Regions from separate parts of the Homo sapiens genome. Here all the other regions are linked to region 4. The links are contacts of gene promoters, found by promoter capture Hi-C in blood cells and fetal thymus (Javierre and others, 2016). All regions are on one chromosome and are shown on one strand. Each heading gives the region's core, a stretch centred on a gene start or on the middle of the fragment in contact. The rest is flanking DNA. Distances are from core to core; before and after follow the strand shown. Region 1 has its middle 17 kb from the start of GSX2. Region 2 overlaps CHIC2 (cysteine rich hydrophobic domain 2). Region 3 has its middle 6.5 kb from the start of GSX2. Region 4 holds the start of DANCR (differentiation antagonizing non-protein coding RNA).

What was found. The method cuts DNA at HindIII sites, captures the fragments that hold promoters and counts their contacts. A CHiCAGO score of 5 or more calls a contact.
Region 1: a contact is called between a fragment that was not itself captured here and the fragment with the promoter of DANCR in region 4, in 1 of 17 cell types (naive CD8 T cells). The highest score is 5.1, in naive CD8 T cells.
Region 2: a fragment that was not itself captured here is called in contact with the fragment with the promoter of DANCR in region 4 in 2 of 17 cell types (activated CD4 T cells and non-activated CD4 T cells); the score reaches 6.5 in activated CD4 T cells.
Region 3: a contact is called between a fragment that was not itself captured here and the fragment with the promoter of DANCR in region 4, in 1 of 17 cell types (activated CD4 T cells). The highest score is 5.7, in activated CD4 T cells.

Annotation. Positions count from the first base shown.
Region 1 is chr4:54,081,195-54,084,504 of GRCh38, reverse strand. It overlaps a transcript of CHIC2 not described here. Among named protein-coding and RNA genes, the nearest start is that of GSX2, 17 kb to the left of the region's middle. The HindIII fragment of the contact is 6,758 bases long and covers 1-3,310 here.
Region 2 is chr4:54,047,087-54,050,314 of GRCh38, reverse strand. CHIC2 (cysteine rich hydrophobic domain 2) reads left to right here. Exons shown (of 6, transcript NM_012110.4): 2 at 1,010-1,064; 3 at 1,205-1,360. Among named protein-coding and RNA genes, the nearest start is that of CHIC2, 16 kb to the left of the region's middle. The HindIII fragment of the contact is 6,225 bases long and covers 1-3,228 here.
Region 3 is chr4:54,104,888-54,108,485 of GRCh38, reverse strand. No RefSeq gene overlaps it. Among named protein-coding and RNA genes, the nearest start is that of GSX2, 6.5 kb to the right of the region's middle. The HindIII fragment of the contact is 4,357 bases long and covers 25-3,598 here.
Region 4 is chr4:52,710,767-52,714,185 of GRCh38, reverse strand. It overlaps DANCR (differentiation antagonizing non-protein coding RNA), which reads right to left and starts at 1,792. Exons shown (of 5, transcript NR_145129.1): 1 at 1,659-1,792; 2 at 1,227-1,362; 3 at 644-692. It overlaps MIR4449 (microRNA 4449), which reads right to left and starts at 1,504; the gene lies at 1,439-1,504. It overlaps SNORA26 (small nucleolar RNA, H/ACA box 26), which reads right to left and starts at 937; the gene lies at 816-937. RefSeq lists an enhancer at 1,109-1,158 and silencers at 1,409-1,978, 1,153-1,986. The HindIII fragment of the contact is 6,853 bases long and covers 1-2,209 here.

The DNA.
Region 1 (3,310 bases), core at 440-2,939, 1.4 Mb before region 4:
CTTTTTTTTTTGTAATTTTTCTGAGATCAGACAAGTTAGTTAGATTCCAAACAATATGGGCCTAATATAATCACAATTCCATTTAAATTGGCCAAAGAATGACCCTTATCCAGACAGGACTCTTAGTGTACTTAGCTGTCAACAAAATATAAAACTTATCAGAATAATGGCTACTTTTAAATATAAGGCCTGCATCATATTGTTAGAGGAACTTCTGGAAATAGGAGACAGTTGCTATTAAAATTCAATTTAGTTTAATTCACCATTATTTACTGAGTGCCTACATATGTTAGGTACTAGGGCTACAAAGATGACTAGACCCCGGGCTGGGCACAGTGGCTCACCTAACCATAGCCATCAATGAATTCAAGTAAGTGTGTGATAGTGGCATGCAACAACTGTGGAACCATGGAGGAGAGATCTGTTCTTTCTTCCTGCTGGCATCATGGACTCTGAGACTGAGGCTTGAACTATTTCTAGGAGATGCTCAGAGTAAAAACAACAGCAGGAGAAGAGACTTCTAGGCCAAAGTTTCAAGAGTGAGCACAGGCCCAGAGGATGGATATGCATTAAGCTGCATGCAGGAGACAGAAGCAGGAAGGGCTGCTTAGTGGCAGAAAGCAAAGAGTGTGAGTGGCAGGTGAAGAAGTATGAAGGCCTCTGTAGTAAGATGAATGGTCTTTGAAGGATGCTAAGCAGAAAATTGAAATGATTATATTGTAATCATTGTAAAGGATGGGATTGGAAGAGAGAGAAACCAGAGACAGTTAGTGTCCAGTACCAAAGTCCAGACTTGAAATGATAAGTGTCACATTAATCAGTAGTGGTGGGAATGGAGAGGAGAGAATAAATTCAAGAGTAATTTGGAAGGTAGCACCAATGAGCCTTGGTTACTAATTAGATAGGACAGGGGTACAGAAAGACAAATGGGTCAGTGGGGACTTGGGTTTCTAGCTCAGGTGTCTGTATTGAATATGATTGTGTTAACAAATATAGTGGTTACAGATGAAAGATAAGCAGTTTTTTGTTGTTTCAGATGAGACTGTAGATAGAGTGAATGGAACAGAAAAAAGATAAATTGGTTGTAAACATTTTGAGTTTTAAGTGCTATAAGAATAGCCAAGAGGAAATTTTTGATGTAGAGTAGCAGTTGGAAATATGGATCTGAATTTAACAGAAATTGAGATTGGAGTTGGGCGTGGTGGCTCATGCCTGTAATCCCAGCACTTTGGGAGGCTGAGGTGGGTGGATCACCTGAGGTCAGGAGTTCGAGACCAGCCTGACCAACATAGTGAAACCCCGTCTCTACTAAAAATACAAAATTAGCTGGGTGAGGTGGCACATCCCTGTAATCCCAGCTACTTGGCTGGCTGAGGCAGGAGAATCGCTTAAACCCGGGAGGCAGAGGTTGCAGTGAGCCGAGATCACTCCAGCCTGGGCAATAGAGCAAGACTCAGTCTCAAAAAAAAAAAAAAAAAAAAAAAAAGAAAGAAAGAAAAAAGAAAGTGAGAGTAGAAATAAAAATGGCATCAGCCTATATTATTTAAAGCATATATAATATTTGAAGCAATATGATGAGATGAAATTACCCAGGGTTGGTGTCATGGTTAGGATGGTGGTCAGGAAAGTCATTGTTTTGGTGTAGTACTTAGAGTAGTTTGAATATATTATGTGATATATTTGTTGGATGCTGAGTCTCTTCTACAGTCTCACTTCCCTCCTCTAAGGACTTGTATAATCTTTTGGTGAGTCTATCTAGGGATAATCCAGTACTTACTATTTGACAGTGGAACTGGAATACACCTGGGAAACCAAATTAAGGTTGTAAGACAGGTTGGTGTAAATATGGGATTGGATTTAGAAACGACTGGTATGAATATGAGATTAGAGTTACAAATAGCCCTGACCACCAGATGACTTGAAAAGGTGGCTGAGTACTCTTTCCTCATCCCTCTCATCTAATAGAAATAGAGTGGAGTAGGGAAATCCTGATGGAGGGTTCAGACACCCTGCCTTCTTTTCTTTCCAAAAGACTTTCTTTTCCATGTAGACCGTAGATGTTTTCTGACTGAGTCAACTTTATATCCACAAGGTCTGTTGACATTTAACATGCCAAAGATCCATACAGTGGAGCAGCCAGATGTTTAGGGCCTGGTCCTGGCTTATTGCCATGAGCATTGCTCAGATTCCCAGTCTGAGTCAGAATCCTGAGTGACAGATCACAGGATGTTTGTGTTTCCTGAAGGACTTAAAGGGCTTGCAAAATGTTCTGTCTTATCCACCTCCAGAGAGAAGATTGCTCATTTTTGAGATCCATGTAGATGGAAAAAGAAAGGAAAAATGGTATATCAATGCACAAAATCATATACAGTATCACCATTCATCATCAGCTATCACTCTTGATTTTCCATCAGTCACTTCCTTACCTATCTAATGCCCTCATCCCATTATGTTCGGGATCAACCTTTTTGCTTCGACCAGGCTAGCCTGTTTGTGGTCCATGGCACACATAGTTATCTTACCATATGTGGGGTTTCCCATTGACACCTTTCTCCACCTCTATCATCTATTTTTCATCTTTAAATTGCTATTCAAAACTATGGCTTCTCCACAAAACATTTGCTTCCCAATGGTAAAAACTTAGGCTGGGTGCTATGGCTCACACCTATAATCCCAGCACTTTGGGAGGGCAAGGCAGGAGGCTCACTTAAGACCAGGAGTTCGAGACCATCTTGGGCAACATAGTGAGACCTCATCTCTAAAAACAACAACAACAACAACAACAGCAACAAGCAACCCAAAACAAGCACATCAAATCATCCCAAATTCACCAGTGGTTTCCTATATGGCAATTAAAGTTTTATCTCCCCATAGAAATTATACCAGAGGTAAAATTTATACTCATTTGGGCATAAAGTACTTATTTATACATGTCTAGGGCAGATTCCTGATCTTTCCATAGCAGTATGTTACAGAGTAGCCCTCACTTAGAGAGGTAGATAAGTAGAATAGAATATTTGACTACATCAAATTGAAGTATCTTAGATGATGAGAATAATAGCGATAATAAGTATCATTCATCAAGTGTCTGCCATGCCAGACACTCTACTAAGCATTTTGTAATGTTATTACATTTAACTATCACAATAAAGATTAAGAAGGGTATCATGCCCATCTTATAGACTAGAAAACAAAGATTCAAAGAAGTAATTTGAAGCCAGGCACAGTGGTGTGTGCCTGTAGTCCTAGCTACTTGGGAGGCTAAGGCAGGAGGATCCCTTCAGCTCAGGAGTTCAAGGCCAGCCTGGGT
Region 2 (3,228 bases), core at 515-3,014, 1.3 Mb before region 4:
GTTTCAAGATTCCATTTAGATTTAGGTGTAAAGTTGGAGTCCCCCCTTCAAAACTTTACAGTGTATTACATGAACTTTCAAAATTATCTCAAATTATATAAAAGTAAAATTGGTCTCGTGTGTGATTTCTTAAGGAAACAAAGGAAGCTGTAAAAGCCATAAAAGCCTGCACTGAAGTGTTGCATGGAATGTGCTCAGTAGTTGTGATTTGAATGAATTCTCTGTTCTCCAAGTACTGGTAGACTTCTGATAGATAAAAGCAAGATAGGTTGTTTTTATTATGTCTTTTATCTTCTTGTTATATTTACCATTCTTTGAAAATAGTTTAAATCTTTTATCAATTCTAAAGCCATGGAATATTTTAACCATGATTCAAGAAAAGGTCTTTTAGGTAATAGGAATAGATATAGGTATAGTACACGTCTACATTTTCTTTCATACCATCTAATGCACTGACAAATAGGTGTTCAATGGAACCTAAGACGGTTCTTGGTAGCACTTTGTCCATTCCTACTTTTTTATTTTTTCTCTCCCTTTTTCCTTATTCTTCCCCTCCTCACTCTTTTTCCTGCATTTTTCCTTCTCATCTTATTGCTTGTGTAGGACACCTGCTAAAATTCACAGGTATTGTTTGTTTCCACCAATAACATTAAAAGCTGGAAAAAATCGCTATCCCACCCATTAAAATAATATGCTTTGTAGTTACTTTTTAAGATATAAAGTTGGTAGCTCAAATTAAATGAACCATTTATATTTTTGTTTACATACTGCTGGTTAATTAACATTCAGCCCCTTATCATTATGCAAAAGTTTCCATTTAACTGCTAAAATAATTGTTACATTTCATAAATTGCTTGTTACAGTTATTTTATCTCAAACTTCCATTTTATGTCTAAAACTTCCTCCATATGTGAAAATGCTTTCTATTGACTTGACCTTTAAATTAAATGGTCTACATTTTTGGCAACAATAACATGTAATAACATATTCTTCTTATTTTTTAAAATAGATTTGGACTGAGCAACAAATTTGAATCTGAATTCCCTTCTTCATTAACTGGAAAAGTGAGTGTCTCATTTATGTACTATTTGTATGCCTCAAAATGAAAGTTTTTTTCTGAGAAAATTAGAAAAAAGTATGCTCATCAGTCATGTTTTTTGACATTAATATTGCATTGTTATTATTTCTTAAAATTTTTCTTTAGGTAGCTCCTGAAGAATTTAAAGCCAGCATCAACAGAGTTAACAGTTGTCTTAAGAAGAACCTTCCTGTTAATGTACGTTGGCTACTTTGTGGCTGCCTTTGTTGCTGCTGCACATTAGGTTGCAGTATGTGGCCAGTTATTTGCCTCAGTAAAAGAGTAAGTTGAATTATATATTTTAATTTAAATTTAGAAGTGGACAAGCAAGTCTTGCATTTATCTAGTTTTTATTTTTTGTATTGAATGAATCACACTATCCTGAATAAAATATGAAAATAATCTGATCCAGGAGAGGAGTGAGTCAGTAAAGTTACTATATATCCAAGTGCTGTTATTAAATAGCCATCTAAAAATTATATTTATAATTTTAGAAGCAAGGAGTAGTGTATGGCATTGTCTGTATCTGTACATTGACAGTGGTGTGGTATAGTGATCAAGGATGCTGGCTTCAGCTCTACCACTTTTCTCTGTGACCTTAGGCACGTTTCCTAACCTCTTTAAACCCTACTTGACACAACTGTAAAATGTTCACCTACTACTTGAATATAAAGGTAAAATGAAAATGTTTGGAAAACTCTTAGCTGAATATCTCAAAGGAAGTGGTTAATAAGTATTAATTAATAGTATTCTTACTGACTGTAAGATGGTACCCATACAAGAAATAAAATGGTTACAATGGTTGTTTCTTGTTGGTAAGATTATGGGACATTCTTTTCTGCTTTTTATATTTTACAAGTTTCCTGTAGTGAGCACAAAGTGATTCTGTAATCAGAAAAAATAATTTCAAAGACTCATTATTTTGACTGCTTATAATAAAAAATTCTGGCCAGGCACAGTGGCTCATGCCTGCAATTTTAACACTTTGGGAGGCCAAGGCGGGCGGATCACTTGAGGTCAGAAGTTCAAGACCAGTCTGGCGTACATGGTAAAACCCTGTCTCTACTAAAAATACAAAAAATTAGCCAGGCGTGGTGGCGGGTGCCTGTAATCCCAGTTAGTCAGGAGGCTGAGGCAGGAGAATCGCTTGAACCTGGAGGGCGAAGGTTGCAGTGAGCTGAGATCGTGCCATTGCACTCCAGCCTGGGCAACAATAGTGAAACTCTGTCTCAACAAACAAATAAACAAAATTTTAAGATGTTGGTAGAGATATGACAAATTATTATAGATTGAATGTATTATATTCTTGTTAAAATTTTCAAAAATTGTATTTATATGTATAAAAATGATACTTTAAAAAAATTTTTTTAAATAAATAAATTTTATTTTTTAAAAATGTATTTAAAAAAATAGAGACAGGGTTTCTTTTTTTTAATTATTATACGTTAAATTCTAGGGTACATGTGCACAACGTGCAGGTTAGTTACATATGTATACATGTGCCATGTTGGTGTGCTGCACCCATTAACTCGTCATTTAACATTAGGTATATCTCCTAATGCTATCCCTCCCCCCTCCCCCCACCCCACAACAGTCCCCGGTGTGTGGTGTTCCCCTTCCTGTGTCCATGTGTTCTCATTGTTCAATTCCCACCTATGAGTGAGAATATGCGGTGTTTGGTTTTTTGTCCTTGCGATAGTTTGCTGAGAATGATGGTTTCCAGCTTCATCCATGTCCTTACAAAGGACATGAACTCATCCTTTTTTATGGCTGCATAGTATTCCATGGTGTATATGTGCCACATTTTCTTAATCCAGTCTACCATTGTTGGACATTTGGGTTGGTTCCAAGTCTTTGCTATTGTGAATAGTGCTGCAATAACCATACGTGTGCATGTGTCTTTATAGCAGCATGATTTATAATCCTTTGGGTATATACCCAGTAATGGGATTGCTGGGTCAAATGGTATTTCAAGTTCTAGATCCCTGAGGAATCGCCACACTGACTTCCACAATGGTTGAACTGGTTTATAGTCCCACCAACAGTGTAAAAGTGTTCCTATTTCTCCACATCCTCTCCAGCACCTGTTGTTTCCTGACTTTTTAATGATCGCCATTCTAACTGGTGTGAGATGGTATCTCTTTGTGGTT
Region 3 (3,598 bases), core at 954-3,453, 1.4 Mb before region 4:
GCCCTTTCGCCGGCCTTCAAAGCTTGCAGGATTTCGTGGTTCTGGTTCCCGTATCCAAGAAAAAAAAAAAGAAAAAAAGAGAAGAAAAGAAAGAGAAAGAAATTTTTGACAAGCAGAAAAAAGAAAATCTAAGCTGTCAATAACTCTCGATCCAGCGAGTGAAACTACATTAATGCCCACCCACTTCCTGCCACCGATGATGCAGTGGGATTCCGAGATGCCTGTGCCCGCAGTAGATACCCAAGTAGGAATGGCAGCTTTAGCATCCTCCTCTTTCCCCGGAGAGCTAGGAGGATTGAGCCATGGCCAGGGGAGACTGGATGGGGAAAACGGCCAGGAGAACAAAGGGTGGGGGTGGGGGCGGATATCAAGGCAGAAGGAGATGGAGACAAGACAGAGAAATGCAGACAGAGAAAGATCACTGGGGAAGCAGATGCAAAGGCAAAAAAAAAAAAAAAAAAAAAAAAAGACAGAGTGACAGCAAACACACCTCTAAAGTCTCAACTCCCTTATCCCAAGTTAAAACTACATGTATGGCTTAAGCAACTCATCAGCCTCTAGCCAAAGGCATTTTGAAGCCTTGACATTCAAAATCCTAATAATTAATCATTCTTATTAATTAATTAAGGAGGAAAGGAGGAAGGTGGCTGGCTGCTGCTTGACCCCAAACAATCTAAATTAGGGTTTGTGAAGGAAGTCTCCAAAAGCATGCACTCCCTCTCCTTCGTATTCTTTCTTTTTCACACTCTCAAAAATTTCCATTATAATCCTTCAAGGTCTGGGGCAGGCAGAGCTTCTCACCCTGCTCCATCCCTTCGCAGCAAACTGAGACCAAGCTGGCTTCTGCTCCTTGGAGCCGGCTGCCACTCATAGGCAGGGAGCTCTTTCCCATCGGGAGCAACTCCCACCTGCCTTTTTTTCTCTGCACCTGCTGTGGGTGGTTTCTCCTTGAACTTCAGAAACCAAGTAGTTGCCTAGAATTACTTTCGCCACAGTGCTCACAGGCTAAATATTACTACATTCTCTCTCTCTCTCTCTCTCTCTCTCTCTCTCTCTCTCTCTCTCTCTTGTCTTCTCTCTCCTCTCTCCCCTTGCCTCCCTCTCACTAGAGACTTGAGTCCCCTATTTGAAATGGTGCAGCTAATACAAAGTCATCAAAGCACTATGGTTCTTGTCTTAAAGTGACAGCCTGCTTTATGAGACTGTTTGAAATACTCCCCTTGCTTTTCAATGTCTCTCTATCCATCTTTGTCTGCTCTTCAGAAAAGGGGACAATATAAAGCCCAGCCTGGCGAGCTCCCCACGCTCAGGCCTGGGCAGTGCCAACCTCCGCCTTTAAGCAGATTGAAATTGTCACTGCTTCATTAATCTGAAACTAGTTACTTTCCTAAGCACACAGCATACACTTCCGATCTGTTAGGATTCACTCAGGGGAGCCCCTGGGGCCTTCCTGGGTTTGGGATTTAGAAGGCTCAACAAAGATACAGCAAGGGTTCAGGAAAACATAGGGCTCAGCTTGAAGAAAAGCAGTGTCCAGTACCGAAGGGCGGCATTGACATCAGTATATTAAGAGAGCACAAAACACTATTTTCAGAGACAATGGGATGCCCAGGATTTTGGAGGGTACACTTGAGAATAAGTAGTCTGGCTATGGCAACAGACAAGGTTATCTATTGCCACATGGAGCAGCACTAGAGGTCTCACAGGCCTCAGAATTTTTTTCCCCAAACAGAAGAAACTGGAATCCAAATTTCTTTGCAAGTTGGAGTTTTGCTGACTTTCTTTTTTTTTAGTTTTTTTTTTTTTTTAATCTGAGTTCTGATTCAAGTCTGATTCTAAGAGATGTCTTAAGTTCTGTGCTTCTTTGGCCCCTCCCTTAGTTCCAGCCTGTGTTGCCCACTCCAAGTGCCAGATGTTGGATGTAGAAGCCTCGGGTCCTTATAGAATTTCTATGAGACAAGTTGCCCCTTTTCTTCATACCCCCACCATTAACAAAAGACAATACAAAGGATTCTATTACTTTTAATATTTCTAGCTGGCTTAGAATAGCAAGTTTTTGGGTTCTATTCTATGTAGTTTAGGGAAGAGATGTGGGCATTTTTTAAGAGAAGCTCAATTTTCAGTAATGTGAGCCTAAAGATTTATAAAATAGATTTATATTAAATTATGTTAATAGACGCCTAGTAAATGCACCATTTAATTGCATGGAAAAAAATGTTCCCTTTTAAAAGGTCTGTCACCTTAACAGGTACATTCAAAGATTTCCTGTGAATAATGAAAATAGGAACAATTGCTTTGATGCACTGAACTGCATTCATCGTCTAGGACAGCTTTGGGCTGTGTTTGGAGAAGATGGGAGGAGCTCTTTTGAAAGGAGTGATTGCTCCTTTAAACTTGATTTCCTCTAGCAAATAGGTTCTATTGGAGTGTCATTCTCCTCCCCTCTCTCACACCCGTAAGGCTGGGCTTGAGATCATGCCCCAGAGCTCTTCTCCATGTCTCCCCTCCATGTTCAGACTGTTTTTCCTCCCCACAACCCAACACTGAGCACCTCCCCATCTCCCTCAAAGAAATCTCTCAAGGAGTGCCATTAAAAGCGAGTGGAACCTGCAGGAAAGGTATAAGTGGGAAACAAAAAGAAAAAGAAAACCTGGTTAAAAATTACTCTTTTCCACCTACATCACCACCATCAAAGGACCCTCTCTGTCTCTTTCACACACACATGTGCCTCATGCATGCACACACTACACACATGTACATACAAAGCCCCTGTTGCCCTCTGTGACTGCTTTTAGTTAGAACCACCACCTTTCTGGCAATTGTCTGACCACAGTTAGAGTGTGCCAAGCAAACTGCATTTCTAATCCTGACCAGATATAACTGGACAGAACTGGTGGGGCGTTGTGGGTTAGCGGGGTGGTGGTTGGCAATGAGGAGACGGAGGCGGAGGTCAGAAATCAAAGACTTCACATCCCCAAGTGTTTTGTCTCTCCTAAAATTATTAGATATTCTTTAGGGGAGTGGGGAAGGGACTGAGCTATGATGACCACTTCAGAATAAGGACCCTAGAGGAAAAGAGGTCTATGGGCACCAGTGTCTCCATCATGCAGGCCCACTGACACCCTAAGGATGGGCTACTGGGTCACTTTTGCTTTTGGCCTAGTTTGCTATCAGTATCAGGCCCTTGGCCTTAGGCATTTGTTGGTGGCTGAGTGGGAGAGTGAAGGGGAAAAGTCTCTGTTCCTCCTCTATGCTCTGAATGTCTGGGCTGGGCCAGGGCACATGGGTGAGAGGTCATCCTTCCTGCTCTCCACTCTGCCTTCCACCCCCAGCTCTTTTCCTGTTTAAAACTAACATGAGACTTGTTCTCAAAAAGATGGACTCAACCACACTCACAGCGGGTGCTACCCACTGATTTTCTCTTGGTGGAGCAAGTTCCTGTTTTCTAATTCTCATTCTCATTTTCATTCTCTTTCTTTCCATTCTTTCTTTCTTTCCATGACCTCTCTAAGAGGTCATGCTCTGGGGGAACATAGTTCTGTTTCTGTTTTTCAATTGGGGCATAATGGAAACTAGTATCTAGTGCTTCCCAGGTAGA
Region 4 (3,419 bases), core at 543-3,042:
GAATAGAATCTGTAAGGTTAGCCGAGAGAAAAGACAAGAGACCCAAGGTCAGGCCAAGTAAGTTTATTAACCTGCCAGGCTTCTCCACCAGTCGGAGGTGGCAGCCCTGAGCTTACAAAATGAGGGGTTTATATGGGGGAGAGAGACCCTGGGGTTGTTAGTCAATTAACTTTACCACATATAATCTCATGACCGGCTTACAATATATTATCTTGTGAAAATAGGAATTTACAAGGGGGTGTAATCCACGTTTCTCATGACCTCCCCCGTGCCACCCAGAGGGCTTCGGTGTAGCAAGTCTGGTGACCTTGCTATAGCGCCTAGATAACGGTTCAGGAATGCAGCTGCAGAGTATTCAGGGTAAGGGTCAGCTGCATTGAGTTAGCGGGGGCGGAGTGGTCCTGGGGCAGCCTGTCCCTAACAGAATCCACCTCCGAGTTGTGACAATTAAATGAAAAGGTTGAAAAGGTGAACATGAAGCACCTGCTACACTGCCCTGTTGCCACCAGCATTGTCACTGCTCTAGCTCCTGTGGCACTGCACGGACACGTGGTTGCTACAAGTTAGTACGCATATTTGGCCTTATTAGAGGCACTTTCCTATTGTAACTGAAGGGATAGTTGGCTTAAGTCAATTGAAATACCAGCAACAGGACATTCCAGCTTCAATGGCTTGTGCCTGTAGTTGTCAACCTATAGAAAGAAAAGTTTTAAAATGACGTTTTAACCAAAGAAAACTGAAATGTATTGCTTGTTCTATAAACTGTAAAGAAAATCACAAAGGCGCTCAAGTTGTAACGAAACTTTTTCTGGTTCAGTTGTGACTCCAGACAGGATCCAAAGAGGAGCTTTCCAGTCTCTTCTCTGGGTTTTATGGAGACTTACTTTACCCTTCTGTGTTAGCCTCTTAAAGCACTGGGTCAACCTTAAAAGGGCACAGGAAAGGGTGCTTTGTGATTTTTTTTCTTTGATTTTTACAGGGTTCACTACTATTTTCCGCGTTGCTCTCAATACCTCGTGGATCTCTGCTTCTCTAAGTCTGAAACCACACTAGAAACACAGCTGTTTTGTTTGGTGAGCCCCTACATGGATGTTTCCTTCCAGTTAAGGGGAGCCGGATTCGGACCTTGGCGACAAACAGACGCCGGGGAACCCTCCGGTCCCACTGGCCACGTGCTCCAGGCTGACTCATTCCTTCCCCCACCCCGCTCAAGGCTAGGAACATACCTGCGCTAAGAACTGAGGCAGCTGCACTTCCGCAGACGTAAGAGACGAACTCCTGGAGCTCAAGGTCGGCTGGGGTTGGGTTCCTGTCCCGCACGCGTGGCCCGCCCGAAACCCGCTACATAGTGGCGCGTCAGCCCTGGGGAAGCAAAGCGCAAAATTGTTACGGTGCCCAGACCTGCGCCGGGAACCTCCGGCTGTTCCGCTGGGCGCGGCGCCTGTGCCTCGCGCAGCCCCGGGACGGGCACCGCCGCCCGCCCCCCGGGCCGCCGAGGGCTGCTCTACCCCTCCGTTCTGGCCGCCGGGAGCAGAGGAGCTCGAGGCGGGCAAAGCTCGTGGGGACACCGGGCGAGCCCAGCCCCTGATCGGACCCACGGGCCGGCCGGGCGCCCTCCCCGCGGGAGACCGAAAGCCGAAGACTGGAGATGCACTCACCGCGCAACTCCAGCTGACAAAGAGGCCTGCGACCTGCGACGGGCGCACAAACCAGAGAGGCGGCGCGGGGCGGGGAGGGAAGCAGGAGGGTCGCGAGGCCCGCAGCCAATCCCGGGAAGACTCTGGGCAAGGGCGGGGCGCGCAGCCGATCCCCTGGAGAGGTCGGGTAGCTCAGCCAATCCCGGGAAGATCCTGAGCGGGGCGGGGTGGAGGGCCGCGGCACGCACAGCCAATCCCGGATGGGGCGGGACGGGCCCGGCCATTGGCTGTCGGTGTCCGGGGCCGGCCTAGGTGTGGCTCATGCAGTAGCACGGGGATAAGCCATGTCTGCGCGCGGAGCATCCTTCTCTGAATTAGATTTTTCAGGCTACCTACCAATCCCCGGCGTTGGTGATTTTGGTGCTCTTGGGCCCTAGACCCTTCCTCGGGTGCCCTTCTGGAGAGGGCATCGAGGTTACTCCAGGGTTGGCCTAAGGCCCTGGGATTCCCTTTCTTAAAGCCACACTAATCCGGTGTGTGTTCATCATCTGTGTCCGCCTAAACCGTAAGCTTAAAGAGAAGCCACGACCATGTCTTGTTCAACAAGCTCACTCCCGTGGCCTCTCCTAAAGCTAGAAGGACTACCTCCTTTCCTCATGCTCCCTCTTTATTCATTTACAGAGTCCAATAAGTAGACCATAATCAGCTGGAGGGTAGGAGTTGGGGAGGTTGAGAAGGCAACCATAGCAATCTCAAGGTAACAGGCTCAAACTTGGCAAACAAATAAGTAGAAGAAAATTGGAGTATATGCTAAAAGGAGAACTTCTATTGCTGTTTCACGTACTTACCATCTGCTAACAAATCTAATCCTCAAAATATATTTAATCATCTCCAAATTATAGATGGGGAAATAATTATGTTATGTAACTTGCCCAAAGTCACAGAGCAGCTAGCCAGTGGTAGATCCAGGATTTGAACTCAAGCAGCCTGAAGGCAGAGCCCCTCAAACAACATGCTACCTAGCCTTTCCCCAGGTGTTGGGGGTGGAGCAGGAAGGGAAACCAAAAAATAGCCTACACTTGGTTAACAGATCAAGACAGGCAGCTCTGGTGGGGTGTGGCTTTGTAAACAGAAAGAACAACTCGTCCAGAGCCCCAAGATAAAACAGGAAAGGGCTTTACCTGTTTAAGGACTCCCAGAAATGGAACTTAAGGAGCAGAGTGGCCTGAGATGAGAATGGCTTGGGGCCAGACCATGCAGGAAACCCTGGAAGAGTTTTTTTGTTTTGTTTTGTTTTTGAGATGGAGTCTCGCTCTGTTGCCCAGACTGGAGTATAGTGGCACGATCTTGGCTCACTGCAGCCTCCACCTCCCAAGTTCAAACTATTCTCGTCTCGGCCTCCCGGGTAGTTGGGATTACAGGCATGCACCACCATGCCTGGTTAATTTTTGTATTTGTGAAAGAGTTTATACTTTGTGCTAAGAATGATGGAAAGCTGTTCAAGTGTTTTGTTTGTTTGTTGTGTGTGTGTGTGTGTGTTTTAACAGGGGAATGATAGGATCTGATGTAGGGTGTGGTTTCGGGTGTGATTAAGGTGGTTTTGGTGGGAAGAAGAAGTTGAGTAAAATTTACCAATAAACCCTAGCACCTAGTCATCATCTTGCAGATATTCATAGGATCTTGTTGAAATTGGAGAGTGAATACCAGTTTGTTGTCCCTTCACCTTTCTCAAGAGTCTTCCAAACATATCTCTAGTTGGAATCTGTTCTTTTTATAGTCCCT